Linked DNA regions of Homo sapiens: all the other regions are linked to region 3. The links are contacts of gene promoters, found by promoter capture Hi-C in blood cells and fetal thymus (Javierre and others, 2016). All regions are on one chromosome and are shown on one strand. The core of a region is centred on a gene start or on the middle of the fragment in contact, and the rest is flanking DNA. Distances in the headings are between cores, read along the strand shown. Region 1 overlaps MTMR12 (myotubularin related protein 12). Region 2 has its middle 10 kb from the start of SUB1. Region 3 holds the start of ZFR (zinc finger RNA binding protein). Region 4 overlaps MTMR12 (myotubularin related protein 12). Region 5 overlaps MTMR12 (myotubularin related protein 12). Region 6 overlaps MTMR12 (myotubularin related protein 12).

What was found. The method cuts DNA at HindIII sites, captures the fragments that hold promoters and counts their contacts. A CHiCAGO score of 5 or more calls a contact.
Region 1: a contact is called between a fragment that was not itself captured here and the fragment with the promoter of ZFR in region 3, in 5 of 17 cell types (activated CD4 T cells, total B cells, naive B cells and 2 more). The highest score is 7.4, in activated CD4 T cells.
Region 2: a contact is called between a fragment that was not itself captured here and the fragment with the promoter of ZFR in region 3, in 6 of 17 cell types (total B cells, total CD8 T cells, naive B cells and 3 more). The highest score is 8.5, in total B cells.
Region 4: a contact is called between a fragment that was not itself captured here and the fragment with the promoter of ZFR in region 3, in 2 of 17 cell types (total B cells and naive B cells). The highest score is 5.9, in total B cells.
Region 5: a fragment that was not itself captured here is called in contact with the fragment with the promoter of ZFR in region 3 in 5 of 17 cell types (fetal thymus, total B cells, activated CD4 T cells and 2 more); the score reaches 8.2 in fetal thymus.
Region 6: a fragment that was not itself captured here is called in contact with the fragment with the promoter of ZFR in region 3 in 3 of 17 cell types (total B cells, non-activated CD4 T cells and naive B cells); the score reaches 6.8 in total B cells.

What each region holds. Positions count from the first base shown.
Region 1 is chr5:32,225,262-32,228,029 of GRCh38, forward strand. MTMR12 (myotubularin related protein 12) reads right to left here. Exons shown (of 16, transcript NM_001040446.3): 16 at 1,746-2,768. Among named protein-coding and RNA genes, the nearest start is that of GOLPH3, 52 kb to the left of the region's middle. The HindIII fragment of the contact is 4,467 bases long and covers 1-2,768 here.
Region 2 is chr5:32,573,635-32,576,509 of GRCh38, forward strand. No RefSeq gene overlaps it. Among named protein-coding and RNA genes, the nearest start is that of SUB1, 10 kb to the right of the region's middle. The HindIII fragment of the contact is 413 bases long and covers 1,292-1,704 here.
Region 3 is chr5:32,443,362-32,446,061 of GRCh38, forward strand. ZFR (zinc finger RNA binding protein) reads right to left here and starts at 1,379. Exons shown (of 20, transcript NM_016107.5): 1 at 1,261-1,379; 2 at 868-967. The coding sequence starts at 1,297. RefSeq lists silencers at 422-761, 992-1,681 and an enhancer at 473-1,030. The HindIII fragment of the contact is 7,512 bases long and covers 1-2,700 here.
Region 4 is chr5:32,282,532-32,285,254 of GRCh38, forward strand. The region is part of intron 1 of MTMR12 (myotubularin related protein 12); the gene reads right to left. Among named protein-coding and RNA genes, the nearest start is that of MTMR12, 29 kb to the right of the region's middle. The HindIII fragment of the contact is 1,032 bases long and covers 879-1,910 here.
Region 5 is chr5:32,242,639-32,245,356 of GRCh38, forward strand. MTMR12 (myotubularin related protein 12) reads right to left here. Exons shown (of 16, transcript NM_001040446.3): 11 at 883-961. Among named protein-coding and RNA genes, the nearest start is that of MTMR12, 69 kb to the right of the region's middle. The HindIII fragment of the contact is 5,337 bases long and covers 1-2,718 here.
Region 6 is chr5:32,260,843-32,263,578 of GRCh38, forward strand. It overlaps MTMR12 (myotubularin related protein 12), which reads right to left. Exons shown (of 16, transcript NM_001040446.3): 7 at 2,271-2,400. Among named protein-coding and RNA genes, the nearest start is that of MTMR12, 51 kb to the right of the region's middle. RefSeq lists an enhancer at 478-577. The HindIII fragment of the contact is 1,664 bases long and covers 600-2,263 here.

The sequences.
Region 1 (2,768 bases), core at 141-2,640, 220 kb before region 3:
GCCTCCAACTCCCTTAATGATAGGGGACGTGAAGGCACAGGGGCTAGTTCCCAACAGGAGCCGACCCCCCACCCTGTTTCACACTGGACGGAGAACATTCCACTCTTTACTCCCCAAGTCCCTCCATGCCCTCACCTGGACATCAAGGAACAAGCAAAATCAAGAGTGAGAGACAGCTAAGTCCACCAAAAGTACAAGAGCTAAACAAATGTGGAAAATAAGACGAGAAGCTGCTAAACTCTACGGTCACAACTACTACTTGGGAATTTAATACAAACACCAAAGAAGCAAAACATCTGAAAAGCACGTGGCATCCATGAGAGCTTATTAAATTCCAGGGGTGTCTCAGAGCTAGCTTTCTGGACATAGTGTGCTGGCCAGATAGGAAAGGGGGATGGGGACAAGCAGCAGAGTGGGAAGCCTCCTCTGTAGGTAGGAAAGGTCAAAGAAATATGAGCCTTGTTTCTCAGAACATACAAAGTGCTATGTCTCAATCTAGTTAAGTATTAAAACGAATTAGAAACAAATCCTACTCTCATAAGCCATCTTACCCTGTGCTCGCTCACTTAACCTCTCTGAAAGCAAAAACAAAGCCTTTTTCTATCTTTCATGGTTTAAATGTACTCAGATCTCTTCCAGCAATTTTTATTCCAGAGTAACAGAATTCTAATTTTACAGATCCCCACAAAAAGCAGAGAGGTAATAATATTTAATTTCAGGGTTAAAAACTCTTTTCTTTTAATCACCCTATCCCCACCCTATTTTTTCTTCAGCATTTTATCATCACCTGGGATTTTTTTTTCTTTTCAGACAGAGCCCTCCTCTGTTGCCCAGGCTGGAGTGCCGTGGTGCTATCTTGGCTCACTGCAACCTCCACCTCTCAGGTTCAAGCGATTCTCCTGCCTCATCCTCCCAAGTAGCTGGGATCACAGGCATGCGCCACCACACCCAGCTAATTTTGTATTTTTAGTAGAGACAGGGTTTCACCACGTTGCCAGGCTGGTCTTGAACTCCCGACACTTCAGGTGATCCGCCCGCCTCGGCCTCCCAAAGTGCTGGTATTACAGGCGTGAGCCACAGTGTCAGCTAGATTTTTTATTATTTTTACCTTAGATTCAGAGGGTACATGTGCAGGTTTATTACATGGGTATATTGCGTGATGCTGAAGTTTGGGCTTCAATTGAACCCATCACTCAAATGGTGAACACAGTACCCAATAGGTGGTTTTTCAACCCTTCCCTGACTCCCTCCCCATTTTGAGTCCCGTGTCTGTTGTTCTTATCTTTACGTCCAATACCCAATGTTTAGCTCCCACTTATGAGAACATTCAGTATTTGGTTTTCTGTTTCTGCATTAATTCACTTAGGATAATGGACTCCAGCTGCATCCATGTTGCCGCAAAGGACGTGATTCCATTCTTTTTTATAGCTGTATAGTATCCCATGGTGTATATGTACCACATTTTCCTGATCCAATCCATCACTGATGGGCACCTGGGTTGATTCCATGTCTTTGCTATTGTGAATAGTGCTGTGATATACATGTAACTGCAAATCACCTATTATAAATATTTGTTTGGTTATCGGTTCCCACCACCAAACCTCCCTGTGCCCCACAAGAACGCAAACTGCACTCTTCCCTGCTGTCCCCACTGGCCCTGCCAAGTACCCAGTACATGCTCAATATTTCCTGAAAGAATGAAACGGATTACTCCATGTGTTATACCAACCACACCAAGTACAGTATTGCTTGTAAATTGTGCTTTAATTTCTGCAATCAGATATGATGCAGTGAGATACAAGTATAAACTTTCATTGTGCATCCAGAAAATAAAAAGCACAAGTATACAGGTTTAGCTCAACAGCTTATTCCCTTATAAAGAAAAAAAAAGTTTTGAATTAAAGCTAGTTTATCTTCAGTGTAAAAACTTGGAGGTATAAACAAACTCAAGATATTATATACAGTAAATTAATTTACATTTCCAAACTTGCACAGTACAGCATTTTAAACAAAGTAAATGGTCTCATTTCAGCTCTCACTGTTAAGCATAATCCACATCCCAATCTCAGATAAAAATTTCACAATATATAAATCCATTGAGAATTCTGTACACAAATACGAGTTATAGAAATCTGATTTCAAATATAAATACAAAAATTGTCATGACCTTACACGTTACAACAGCTTATTTTTCTATTGTAATTTTAAAAAATCATAGAAAAATATGTCAATGCACATTCAACTGCTATGACAAAGGCCATGACCTTGTGCCTTTAAACCATACTTTGTAGAGTGTAAAGCATCACACCGGGCATTTTTGGAATGAAAATTACAAAGCCTGAAGAGGCTACTGTATAAATATTCACGTTATAACGTGGTAACAAAAATAGCTCCATAGCATATTTGGGAGGCAATGGGGCAGAGAAGGAAGTGGAGGTTAGTGCTAATTTAAGAAGGCCTATAGAATGTATGTGAAGGTAGCTAAGGAACTAGTTAGTGTATTTTAAAATCCCTATTGCAAGCCTAACACTGACCTCGCTAGTAACTCTTAAGGCAATCAAGACGGAACATGTGTTTGGCCCCCAGATGCACGAATCCTGCCCTCCCCTCAACCTTTGTTCATCCTAACAGACCAACCTGGCTCCTGCATTAATATGGAGTGGGGAGAACAGCAAAACAATTCACTGTATGTACAAAAGACAATTCAGTGCAAACCTAGAAACTTCTCTTAGTCAATAGTTTCCAATTTTCTGAGACGAGGTCTTGCT
Region 2 (2,875 bases), core at 248-2,747, 130 kb after region 3:
AGCTCACTGCAGGCCTTGACCTCCTTGGCTCAAGTCATCCTCCCACCTCAGCCTCCCGAGTAGTTGGGACTACAAGCACATGCCACCATGGCCGGCTAATTTTTCTATTTTTTGTAGAGATGGGGGTTTCACTTTGTTGCTCAGGCTGGTCTCAAACTCCTGGGCTCAAGTGATCCACTCTCCTCTGCCTCCCAAAGTGCTGGGATTACAGGCATGAGCCACCATTCCCAGCCCTATTTCCATTATTTTAACTTCTAATGCCTGAAAATGAATAGATACAAGAAGAAACATTTAAATGGAGATGTAACTAATCCAATGGCAAAACATTAAAAAAAAATTAAAATAAAACTTACTGACCAAAGAAAGAAAGAAAAGTAGAAATTAAAATGTTTCACTATTGGGTTCAATGTACATTATTCAGGTGACAGGTACACTAAAAGCTCAGACTTCACCACTATACAATTCATCTGTGTAGCCAAAAACCACTGAACCCTTACAGCTATTGAATTTTTTTTTTTTTTGAGACGGAGACTTGCTCTGTTGCCTAGGCTGGAGTGTAGTAGTGCGATCTCAACTCACTGCAACCTCTGCCTCCCGGATTCAAGCAATTCTCCTGCCTCAGCCTCCCAAGTAGCTGGGATTACAGGCACACACCACCATGCCCGGCTAATTTTTATATTTTTTTAGTGGAGATGGGGTTTCACTATGTTGGGCAGGCTGGTCTGGAACTCCTGATCTTGTGATCCACCCACCTCGGCCTCCCAAAGTGCTGGGATTACAGGCATGAGCCACTGCGCCTGTCCAAAAAGTTTTTTAAAAAGGTCTGGGGTGGGCCAGCCAACTGGTTACACAGTTGTCTGGGATCCCATGGAATATTTAACCTGACCTCTGATGGGAACAGGAAACTGAGACCCAGGGAGGTAAAATGACTTGCCCTTGCCCTGTTATGGTCAATATCACTGTAGGTCTCTGGACCCAGCTCTTTAGCAACCTTTCCATGCCTCTATGCAGCTCCCCATGTATCAGTTCTCTGAGAGAATGCAGCTTGGGCATCTGTAACTCTTAGGTTGAATTCAGGCAGTTTACCACTTCTCCTTGGCTCATAATGTCTAGGACAGCCTTGAATAGGTTCAGAAATCATGTGGCAACAAAATCCCCCCTTGATATCATGGTATATGGGTTATGTTTGGTATTTGCAAAGCAAACAACTGGGATCAAATTCCAGCACTGCTACTTAGCCGCTGTGTGACACTGGTATCTTTGTGTCCTAAGACTGTAATAAATTGTCACAAGCTTCGTAGTTTAAATCAACAGAAATTTGGCCAGGCATGGTGGCTCATGCCTGTAATTCCAGCACTTTGGGAGGCTGAGGTAGGTGGATCACTTGAGGTCAGGAGTTTGAGACCAGCCTGGCCAACATGGTAAAACCCTGTCTCTACTAAAAATGCAAAAATTAGCCAAGTGTGGTGGCAGACGCCTGTAATCCCAGCTACTTGTGAGGCTGACAGGAGAACTGACTGCTTGAACCTAGGAGGCAGAGATTGCAGTGAGGCGAGATCATGCCACTGAACTCCAGCCTGGGCGACTAGAACAAGATTCTGTCTCAAAAAATCAATCAATCAATCAACAGAAATTTATTATCTTAAAGTTCTGGAGGGTAGAAGTCGAAAATCAAGGCAACGGGAGGGCCATGCTCCTCCTGAAAGCTTTAGGGAAGAGTCCTCCCTTGCCTCTGCCTAGTTTCTGGTGCCTGCCCGCAATCCTTGGTGTTCCTCGGCTTGTAAGATGCATCCAAGTGTCTTTCTGCTTTCTCTGGTAAAGACACAGGTCACTGTATTTGAAGCCCATCCTAATTTAGTATGACTTTGTCATAATGTGATTACATCTGCAAAGACCCTATTTTCAAATGTAGTCACAATCACAGGTACTGGGGTTAGGACTTGGGTAGATTTTTTGAGGGGGGTTACAATTCAACCAACTAACTCAGGTAACTCCCTTCACCAATCTGAGTACAGTTTCTTCCTTTCTATAATGGAATAAAACACCTCTCTCCCAGGCTTAATGTGAATACAATGAGATGACATGCATAAGTGCCCGGAATATAGGAGGTGCTCTGAAGATGCTGCCAACTCCCCCTTGGATTTCTTTGTTCCTAAAGTCAAGCTCAGTGATCGCACATAGTAGATAAGTTTGGCAGTTGATTGATTTTCTAAATCAGAAGTGTAAATGCCCAGTGGACTTTGCACCAAAGGACCCAGAGATCTGGCTATGCATTCTCTAAGTGTCTTTTCACAAGGCAAGACTCTCCCAGTCCCTCTTGGAGAATCACTTTTGAGACACATTTACTAGTTCTACCTGCTTTCTCCTTAAATCACCATGGATAGCAGCATCCTTTCTGCACATCTCGGGTTCTGCTTGGATTTAGCATTAACTCCTTGATAACATGTTATGAGGACAAAATCTCTGCTTTCTGTGTGGAATTGACACAAAGATATTTACACTATTGAATTAAGGCTTCTAATTTGGCTTTATAGGTGAGCTCCTAGTCAGAATACTGAAGAATTAATAAAAATTACATAAATGACCTAAAGAAATGTGAATTCATATAGATTGTTTAAAATGGGCAAGTTTTATTAGAAAACTATCCTATTTAACAGCATCCCTGGTAAATAAGAAAACAAACAAACAAAAATGGCTGGGCGCAGTGGCTCACGCCTGTAATCCCAGCACTTTGGGAGGCCAAGGCGGGCAGATCACCTGAGGTCAGGAGTTCGAGACCAGCCTGGCCAACATGGTGAAACCCCATCTCTACTAAAAATACAAAAAAAAAAAAAAAATTAGCCAGGCGTGGTGGCAGGTGCCTGTAATCCCAGGT
Region 3 (2,700 bases), core at 129-2,628:
TGCATTACAATGACTCAGTACAATCTCACTTGCATCTTCTTCCCTCCCCACCATTCCCCGCAGGGGAAAGACCCCCGCAAGGAGAATGACAGGCCCACCTGGGGCCTAAACTCCATAGCTCAAACAAGGCTGGGCACTCATTTATCAGCACTAGAAACTTCGCACATCTTTTCCAGTCTAAGAACTACACAATTTACAGGTGGTTGGTATGTGAATCTCTCTCCTTGCAGGAAAAACTAAAGGAACCCGATGAACACAGTGACACCCGCAGTTTGTCAGCAGGACTCGCTAGCGATGGAGCGTCTGGGGAAGAAGCCCCACGGCGGAGGAAAAGGTACCCGAGACAACGACACGTTATCTGGGCTCCGGGGGTTGAAGCACCAGGCGACGACGCAGAGAGGCGTCGCACGAGAAGCCAGTGGACCTGCGACACGGCACTCCCCGTGAGGTCCCTTCAGCCACCCTCTCCATCCCCCAAGTGGGAAGAAGATGGGAGGTGGGGGCTGGACGCGCGGAGGCGGGGACTGGGGGGCCTGCCGGGCGGCGGTGGCGGCTCCGCTCGGCGGCCGCAGGAGGCCATTTTAGTTAAGGGGCCGCTGAAGGGCCCTGAGGCCTCCACGTCCCTACACCTCCGCCGTCTCTACCTCCCCCCTACTGGGGGCCGCTCCCCGCCGCGGGCCGGGCCGGGCCGGGCAAGGCGGGGCGGGGCGGGGCGGGGCGGGAGAGGCCGCCGGGCTGGGCCGGGCCAGGCCTGCAGCGGGCCGGGGCTCTGGGATGGCTGGGGACGGGCGCGGGGGCGTCGCATCGACAGGATCCGGACCGAGGGGAGAGCAAGGGGCGAACAGAGAGAAGGCAGGATGCCGTTACCTATATTGGGCCGCAGCCGCCGCCGCCGCCGCCCCGCTGTGGGTGAATCCAAAGTAGTTGCCGGTCGCCATTTTGGCATCTTCCCCCAGCCGGCTGGGCACTGCGGCGGGCACGAAGAGTCGGGTCCCATGGCGGGACAAGAGACACAGAGGAGCCGAGACGCCGAGGGAGGGCAGGGAGAGAAAGAGAGAGGCGCCGTGAGAGCAGCCCTGGCGGGGCCCAGGCCGCGGCCGCGCCGCCTCCCCCTCCCGCCTCGCACTCCCTCACTCACTCGCACGCCCGGGTGGCGGCCGCCGCCTCCTCCCCGGAGCCTGCCCCAACCCCCGCGGCTCCCCGCTGCCCGGGGCCAGGGAGGGGGCCGGGCAGAGGCCTCGCGGGCCACATTAGACTCACCATAGGTGAAAGAAACTACAGGGCATATGGGAATCATGGGCTCGGGCTGCTGCTGCTGAACTCTGAACTCTCACCCGCTGCCTCCCTCCTCTGCCCCGCTCCTCCTCAGCGGAGAACAGACCGCCGCCTCCGACCGCACTGCGCAGGCGCGCCTGTGCTCGGCATCCTGGGAGCTGTAGTCCCCGCCGTCTTCGCGGCTCCCCCGGGCGCGTGCCGGGGCCTCGGCGGTGCGGGCGCGGGGAAGCCCGCGGGGGAAGAGGGGCCTGGCCTTCTCCGAAGTGGTGGTGACGCCGCGCGGCCGCGGGGCGACGGGGGCGTGTGCCAGAAGCGCCTCGCCTGTCCTCTGGGGAGTCGGGGAGCGTGACCAGAGAGAGTGACGTCTGTTCGCCTTTTTCTTTGCTTTCCACTGGCTTCCTTAACTTTTGCATGTGCACTTATTCCCTGCCTCCCTGTCTTCCTCGCTCATTAATTTTTCATTGGAATTCGAGCTGGGCAATTTAGGATTTTTCCTTATTTCCTGCTTTCCCGCAGCTTTTCCCCAACCTCTGAAGTGCGGAGGGAGGGAGAAGGAGAGGAGAGAAATAGAAAAAGGATGGAGAGTGCTTTTCTGTTGGACTAAAAGCACACCCTAAACATCCCTCCCGGACATACCTCTTGCTATACCCTTTCCTCGACCTGCACCCACTCCCTGAGCCATCCGGCGTATATCGGTCACCCAGCAGGGTGTCAGGCAGTGTTGTAGGTGCTGGAGATACGGCAGAGAACAAAACAAAGTCCCTGTTCCCGTGGAGTTTACGTTCTAGGAGCGGGTATATGTCAGCCAACAGCCGGTAGCCAAAACACAGAAATTCTGTCTGATGGTGACTGGAGCTTCAAGCATAAATAAAGCAGAGTAAGGAAAATAAGGGTAAGGGAGGTGCTATTTCATGTAGAGTGTGGTTAGGGAGACCACTTGAAGGAAGGAAGGACAGGCCTGGGAGATGCCTGCAGGAAGAGCAGCAAGTGGAAGGGTCCAGATGAAGGAATGAATGTTCAAGAGCAAGAAGATCAGTCTGGCTGGAGTCAAGTGAGAGGGAGACCAGATCACGTGCCAGATCTTTAGTGGTAAGGACAGAACAGTACTTGCCCCCATGTAAGCATTTCCTCTTTCCCTCTGTTTCCTCGCTTTCTTCCCTTTAGTTTCTCAGTTCGTTTTCAACCATTCTCTTTCCTCTTCCAGTCCCTCTTCTGATCGTCTAGTTTCTCTGGCCTTATGTTTCGTGTCTTCCATCAAGTACATATGTACTGCCTGCATTTCACCTCTTCCTTACCTTCTCCATGCCCATCCCCCAGACTCCCTGCTCCTCATCTCTCCTCATTGTTGGATATGAACATTAAAAGGAAATGCTGGCCGGGCGCGGTGGCTCACGCCTGTAATCCCAACACTTTGGGCGGCCGAGG
Region 4 (2,723 bases), core at 145-2,644, 160 kb before region 3:
ATATACACTATGCAAGTCTTACAGATAATCAACTCAGGTAAAAAACAAATAACCATCATCACCACTATCAACTGCTTCCCCCCTCAAACAAAAATCCAAACCAGTCCCAAGAAGAGAAATAACCTAGAGGACTCCAAAAAATCAGGGTATACAAATAAGAATCATAAAGAAATCCTTGCCTCAAAAATAAGTTTAATTGGAGTTTTTCTTTGAATTTGATTTTCACAAGTTACCTGTTTGGGTGGGTAGGAAGGACGGAACGGAGAGTATTCACTGGCAATGTCTGTAGTCTCTTCATCCCTATATTTCACAATCGCTTTTTGAACTCCACAAGAAAAACAAAGAAAGAACTGACAAATATGGAGCTAATATATTTCAATATTCTTAAGAGAAAACGGATTTACCATTCTTTGCTTGTTGATCACAGGAGAATGAACATAGCTGAATGAAGGAGAGCAGAGGTGGATACCAACAAGGTACGAGAGCACCCGTATCTGGATGTGCTGAGTCCTACATGTGGATCTTGGAGTGGGTTCCCCTGAAATTCCCCTATGTGCATCCTACTCCTAACCATGCTGTATTCTGAATGTGTATAAGCTGTTGTTTTCATTGGCAAATTTGTTGGGTGAGTGATTAAAGGCTGTCCAAACTTTACAATTGAATGAGTAAATATAATCTCTTTCTTAGTGGCATTACAAATTACTACACTGTGACCAAGAGTCACTTGTGGACTGTAGACATCACAGATGTCCAATCTGTGAACGCCAAAGTCTACTGTTCCTTTTTCCAAAGTGGGTACAGGGCCAGCCCTTACTGAGGTTGAGAAGTGAATAATAACAAACATTTCTTGGGCTCTAAGTGCCAGCTACTGTCTAAAAAGCTTTGTATTTATTTATTAACTCATTTAATCCTCACAGCAAACCTTTGCAATAGAGTTATTATACCCATGATTGTCTCCATTTTACAGATGAAGACACCCTGCTAGTATGTGGCACAGGTGAAAGTCAAACCCTGTGCGCAGTCTGCGTTCCTGGCCCAGTCTGCATTCTTATTCAATGCCACACTGTCATGTGGAAAGAAGGAATGAAAGGAAAAAGGAAAAACAAGGCAGAATGATCAGTGAAGTACCTGCTAGATCCACCTGAAACCAGGTAAAAGCGAGCAACACAAAGTGACCAGGGAAAGCCTCGAATGAGAGTTATAGAGAGGCCAAGGGAAGCTAAAGGGAAAACAACAACAAAAGACACCTACACCCAACCTAAGTGACACTGGCCAGCTGCATGGAGAAGAACCTTGAGGCTCCTCAACACCTACTGAAAGTGTTACCTCTTATGACTCACTCCACTGGGTCCTCTGAGGCATGAGTCTCTAATTTTCAAGCCAACTGACTCAAGAGTTCAATGGGACTCCAGGAAAGGCTCTAACCATGAATAACACTGGTATGTATGCCTGAGCAATTCTTGCTTCCTTTCAAGAGTATATAATCTTGGCCAGGCGCGGTGGCTTATGCCTGTAATCACAGCACTGTTGGAGGCCAAGGTGGATGGACCGGATCACTTGAGCTTAAGAATTCGAGACTAGCCTGGGCAACATGGCCAAACCCCATTTCCACAAAAAAAAATTTTTTTTTTTTTTAATTAGCCAGGCATGGTGGCATGTGCCTGTAGTCCCAGTTACTCAGAAGGCTGGGGCGGGAGAATCACCTCAGCCTGGGAGGTCAAGGCTGCAGTGAGCTATGATTGCACCACTGTACTCCAGCCTGGGTGACAGAACAAGACCCTGTCTCAAAAAAAAAAAAAAAAAAAAAGAATAGAAAAGAAACAATAGCTAGGCTTAGCCACTAATATGGATGGCATCACCAAATGCTCTACTCATATTGCAATATACTGAAAAACGGAGGATTCCTCTAAAGCTTAATGGAAAGACTATTACTTGTGAAGCCTTTTCAGAGAGAGCAGTAGATAGGCCCAGCACATCCCAGGATCTAACAGCCAATTCAATCAGCATCCAGTGAGAGCTGCCTGTGTACTATCCCTATTCTTTGGGGTGGTGGGAGCTTCTTAAACCATAAACTAGTTTTACAGAAGGGTCTAGAGTTGCCCTTAAGCCTCTGCGCCTTTAACTCTGACACTCCCTACCAACTACCTAGTTAGTAGATGTTGACAACCTTACTTCTGCAGCTGTGAAACACGAGGTAACATTCCTCACTTATTCCACTAACTATCATGTTCAATGTGCAGCAAAAAGGTAGAAAAGGTATAGTTCTTTAATACTCAAGCAGAACTGGTTCTACTGGTTAGGCTGACAGACTTTTCTTAAAAAACTAACTCTGAAAATTATGGAAATTTTCAACAAATGCATCAGTTAAAAATGGTCTTTGTGCTTTGTATACCACCTCTTGCTGCTCCATTTGAATTTGAACAAAGCTTGCCATTATGGCACAAAGGAAAGGCAAAAACTGCTGGCACCAGGATCACAGCACGTCCAGGTTTTCTAAACTAGAATATCTCAGTGGGGCTTAAATTCAATTAGAACAGAAGCATGGGCCAGGCACAGTGGCTCACGCCTGTAATCCCAGCACTTTGGGAGGCCGAGGTAGGTGGATCACTTGAGGTCAGGAGTTTGAGACCAGCCTGGCCAACATGGTGAAACCCCGTCTCTACTAAAAATACAAAAATTAGCCGGGTGTGGTGGCACACACCAGTAATCCCAGCTACTTGGGA
Region 5 (2,718 bases), core at 201-2,700, 200 kb before region 3:
TGTCTTCTGCTTGCAGACGTGTCCTCTCCTACCCCCCAGCCACCTTCCCTTCCCACACCCCGACTCTTCATCTGGCTAGAGATGCTCACCCTTCTCTGCCCACCCCACACAAAGAAGGGTTCTTTGCTTCCATAACATTTATCCCTGTCTGCCATTATATATTCAAATTATGAGACGTGTAGCAGGATGTCTGGAGCACAGTTCAGTGTCTGGAGGGCCAAGGCTCCTTTCCGCAGTACTCACTTCAGAATGGAGGGAGAATGTGTGTGAGGCAGTAGGAAGCATTGCTCTCCCTCCTGAAATGTAGCCTAGCATTAGAGCTACTCTGTCATCCTGATCATCATTTCTGTTTTGCACCTTTCTCTGCCATATCCTCTATTTAATGGCAACAGAGAAGAGCTATTCAATATAGAAAGTAGGAAAGGCAATATAACTGTTTTCTGGAACTCTCAACCTAACTCCCAAACCAAAAATAACTGACATTAATCATGGTTTTTAAAAACACAGATAATATATGCGTAAGACACAAGATTAAAAAAGGTATTCAGTGAAAAGTCAGTATCACTCCTGTTCTCACCCTCAGTTTCCTCCCTGGAGGCCAGCACTGCTGCCTCAATAATAATTCTGGGTTGTCACACTCTTTCTGTGTTTTTTCAATGCCTTGTCTGTAGAGTACATCTCCTTGTAAGCAGGTGGCATGTTCATAAATTCCTATCAAATGTGCACAGAAATAAGTAGCAAATATAAAATCTAGCTGTAGAACATGTGATCTAAGAATATTTAACTGTCAAATATCAAACAGTTAAATTATTTGTCGGTTTGATCTACTACCCTGAGTTATACAATTACAAAATTCATGAGTAAAACAATGGTTTGAAATACCTGATTATGTCAAGCCAGCTGCTACTTTCCAACAGAGAAAACCATTTTATATCTGTGTCCCAAAATTCAGTACTGTTATCTGAAAAAAGAAAAAGGAGTAAAGACGTCAGGTCATTGTTCACTGACATACTTGCCACAAAAATCCTGTGCTCCTCAACTGTGTCATTCAGATTAACAGTCCTGACTCAAACTGCAGAATCCAGGCACAGGACTCTATTTTGAGTAAGGGTCATTTCAAAACTTCAGCTGAAATGGTTTCTGAGCTGTAGGCCCCTAGAAGATTGTGGTGGTCAAAAAGAGATCTTTATTGCTGAAATAAGAAATTCCTACAATGCATACACAAAGCCATGGTTCATCCTGTAGGTCGACAGAGAGTAACATGCTTTAGGCAGAAATAGTTGACATCCAGGCTGTTAATTCTAGAAGTGGAAAATGCAACTGGATCCATCCTGATGCCACGGAAGCCTAAGGGTCAGGCTTAACTTTCATTAGAATCTCAATGCACAAGTTCGTCCACCCAGCATACCATGACATGACTCCTCCTACATGCCTTATAAAACAGAGAACCTTAAATCTTACAGAAATCCAATATATTTAAAAGCTGCAAACTCAGGCTGGGTGCTGTGGCTCATGCCTATAATCCCAGCACTATAATCCCAGAAGCAGGAAGATCACTTGAGGCCAGGAGTTTGAGGCTGCAGTGAGCTATGGTGGCGCCACTGCACCCTAGCCTTGGCAACAGAGTGAGACCCTGTTTCTAAAAAATGAAAAGAAAAAAAAAAAAAAAGGCCAGATGTGGTGGCTCACGCCTGTAATCCCTGCACTTTGGGAGGCGGAGGTGGGCGCGTCACCTGAGGTCAGAAGTTTGAGACCAGCCTGACCAACACAGAGAAACCCCGTCTCTACTAAAATACAAAAAAATTAGCTGGGGGTGGTGGCCCATGCCTGTAATCCCAGCCACTTGGGAGGCTGAGGCAGGAGAATTGCTTGAACCAGGGTGGCGGAGGTTACAGTGAGCTAAGATCGCACCATTGCACTCCAGCCTGGGCAACAAGAACAGAACTCCATCTCAAGAAAAAAAGAAAAAAAAAGTTGCAAACTCAAATCAATAAAAGACAGATATCCCTGAAAGTCCTGAGTGACTGAAATAAAACTAGAATGAGTGTCCTTGATTAAATAGTAAACATGTATTGTAATGTTTTAGTTTGAGTTAAGAGTCATACATTGCTGTTTCCCCTGCAAGAATATAAGCTCTTGGTGTTATATTTCTCTTTATCACCAACGACTAGCATAGTTAATATATACAAGGGGACTTCAAAAAGTATGTGAAAACATGGAATTAAAAGATGAAAATAAAAAATATAAACTTTATTTCTCAACATAAGCTCCATCAAGTTTAAGACACTCTCAACCCCCTCTAAAGAACTGAGGGTCCTGGGAATTTAACCATGTCATTGCAGTCTATTTTACATTATTAACTGAAAAAAAAAAATGTGTTCCCTTCAAGGATTTTTGTGTTTTTTTTGAGATGGAGTTTTGCTCTTGTCACCCAGGCTGGAGCGCAATGTGCAATGGCACAATCTCAGCTCACTGCAACCTCTGCCTCCCGGGTTCAAGCGATTCTTCTGTCTCAGCCTCCGGAGTAGCTGGCATTACAGGTGCCCACCACCATGCCTGGCTAATTTTTGTATTTTTAGTAGAGATGGGGTTTCACCATGTTGGCTAGGCTGGTCTTGAATTCCTGACCTCTGGTGATCCGCCCACCTCGGCCTCCCAAAGTGCTGCAATTATACACGTGAGCTACTACGCCCAGCCCCCTTTAAGGATTTTTTAAGA
Region 6 (2,736 bases), core at 182-2,681, 180 kb before region 3:
ACAAAGTTGTATGAATCTGTTAGCAGGGTGTTAGGGAGTATGTTCCAAAATGATAACATTCAAGTTTCTGAAAACAGATTATACAGTCATGCTTTAAAAATGTAGGTCAGCCAGGCGCAGTGGCTCACGCGTGTAATCCCAGCACTTTGGGAGGCTGAGGCAGGCAGATCACTTGAGGTCAGGAGTTCAAGACCAGCCTGGCCAACATTGTGAAACCCCATCTCTACTAAAAATACAAAAATTAGTGGGGCGTGGTGGCAGGCGCCTGTAATCCCAGCTACTCAAGAGGCTGAGGCAGGAGAATCACTTGAACCCAGGAGGCAGAGGTTGCGGTGAGCCGAGATAGCACCACTGCACTTCAGCCTGGGTGACAGAGTGAGACTCAGTCTCAAAAAAACATGTAGGTCAGATCATGTCTGCTTCTACTCAGCCTCCCTCTCACTGTCCTCCCATCAAAGTCTCTGGGCCCATCATCTCCCACTCCTCTCCCTAGCTTGCTCCTCCCCCATCCCTGGGCACCTTGCTGTTCCTCCCCCAGGCCTTTGCTCTTACTCCTCCCTCCACCTGGAATGCTCCTCCCTCGGGTGTCCTCTGACTCAAGCTTTCACTTCCTTTACGACTATGCTTACAAGCCACCATGCAAAACCTTACTTCCACCATGTAAAACCTTCCTGACCAACCCTCCCACCATCACCTCCAGCACTCCCTAACCATGTGCTGGATCTGATTTTCTCCATAGCACTTATCTATTAACATGCTATAATTTACTTCTTTATTCTACCATCATCTTCCTCCCTCCAGAATGATAGCTCCAAGAGGGCAGAGGTTTTCAGGTGCCCTGTTGACTGCTGCCATCTCTAATAGCTAGGACACTGCCAAGCAAATGGAAGGCAGTCAAAAATTTTTGGTGAATGAATAAAAGAAGTGCTCAATAAAAGGGAAGAAAAAGGCCGGGCGCAATGGCTCACACCTGTAATCCCAGCACTTTGGGAGGCCGAGGCGGGCAGATCACAAGGTCAGGAGATCAAGACCATCCTGGCTAACAGGGTGAAACCCTGTCTCTACTAAAAACACAAAAAATTAGCCAGGCGTGGCGGCAGGTGCCTGTAGTCCAAGCTACTCAGGAGGCTGAGGCAGGAGAATGGCGTGAACCCAGGAGGCGGAGCTTACAGTGGACCGAGATCACGCCACTGCACTCCAGCCTGGGGGACAGAGAGAGACCCCATCTTAAAATGAATAATAAATAAGTACATAATAAAAAGCTAGTATTGATGTGGAGGAAGAAACTCTCATACACTGTTGGTAGGAATATAAAATGGAACAGTCTCTGTGAAAAAGTCTGTGAGTGCCTCAAAAGGGTAAACACAAATTTCCACAGGATCTGGCAGTCCACTTCTAGGTAATATACCCAAGAAAAATAAAAACATACATCTACACAAAAATTTATAATTGAATGTTCATATCAATATTATTCATGGCCAGGCATGATGGCTCATGCCTGTAATCCTAGAAGTTTGGAAGGCCGAGGTGAGAGGATCGCTTGAGCCCAGGAGTTCAAAACCAGCCTGGGCAACATGGTGAAACCCCATCTCTACAAAAAGCAGAAAAATTAGACAGGCATGGTGGTGCACGCCTGTGGTCCCAGCTACTCAGGAGGCTGAGGTGGGAGAATCACTTGAGCCGAGACGGAGGTTGCAGTGAGCCGAGATGGCACCACTGCACTCCAGCATGGTGCAGCATAGGTGTCGGAGCAAGACCCTGTCTCAAACAAAAACAAAAACAAAAACAAAAAACCAAAAAACATTATTCAAAGAGCCAAAAAGTGAAAATAATCCAATAGTCCATCAACTAATAGATGGATAAATTAAATGTGCTATATCCACATTATGGAACATTACTTGGCAATAAAAAAGAATGAGATTCTGATACAAGCTGCAAAATAAACAGACTTTGAAAACATCATGCTAAGTGAAAGAACCAAGTCATAAAAGATCACATATGATATGATTCCATTTATATGAAATGTTCACAACAGGCAAGTCTATAGTGATAGAAAGTAGATTAGTGGTTGTCTAGGACTGGGGAAGAAAGAGAGGTATTCGGGGAAAATGGGGAGTGACAGCCAATGGGTATGGAGTTTCTTTTTGGGAGGATGAAAATGTTCTAAATTGACTGTGGTGATGACTGCACAACCCTGTGAATATACTAAAAAACACTGTACACTTTTAATGGGTGAATTGTACAGCATGTGCCCAGCATGGAAAGCTTACCTCTCACAGACTTTATAGCCTTCGTTGACACTCACTGCTTTGTACTTCATGTTGCCTTTGGTCCGTTCCAGTTCCCAACACCAGTCCTTAAGTGTGTCAAACATTACGGTATGGTTCTTGGGATCAGTGACTAAGAGAACAAAATGTAAAAGACAATAAAATCTTTCCATGAAGCACTGGTGCTTTTATTATGTGAAAGTCCCTCCTTAGGTTTTGGTTTCCTCCACTAAGCCCATTTTTATCCAAGCAGAATGAATTGATTGCTTAATCCTAACCTTGTTCCATTTTTTGTCATTAATCCAAAATTATGACTGAGTCTCTTTTTTTTTTTTTTTTGAGATGGAGTCTTGCTCTACTGCCCCTGCTGGAGTGCAGTGGCCAGTGGTGCCATCTTGGCTTACTGCAACCTCCGCCTGCCAGGTTAAAGTGATTCTCCCGCCTTAGCCTCATGAGTAGCTGGGACTAC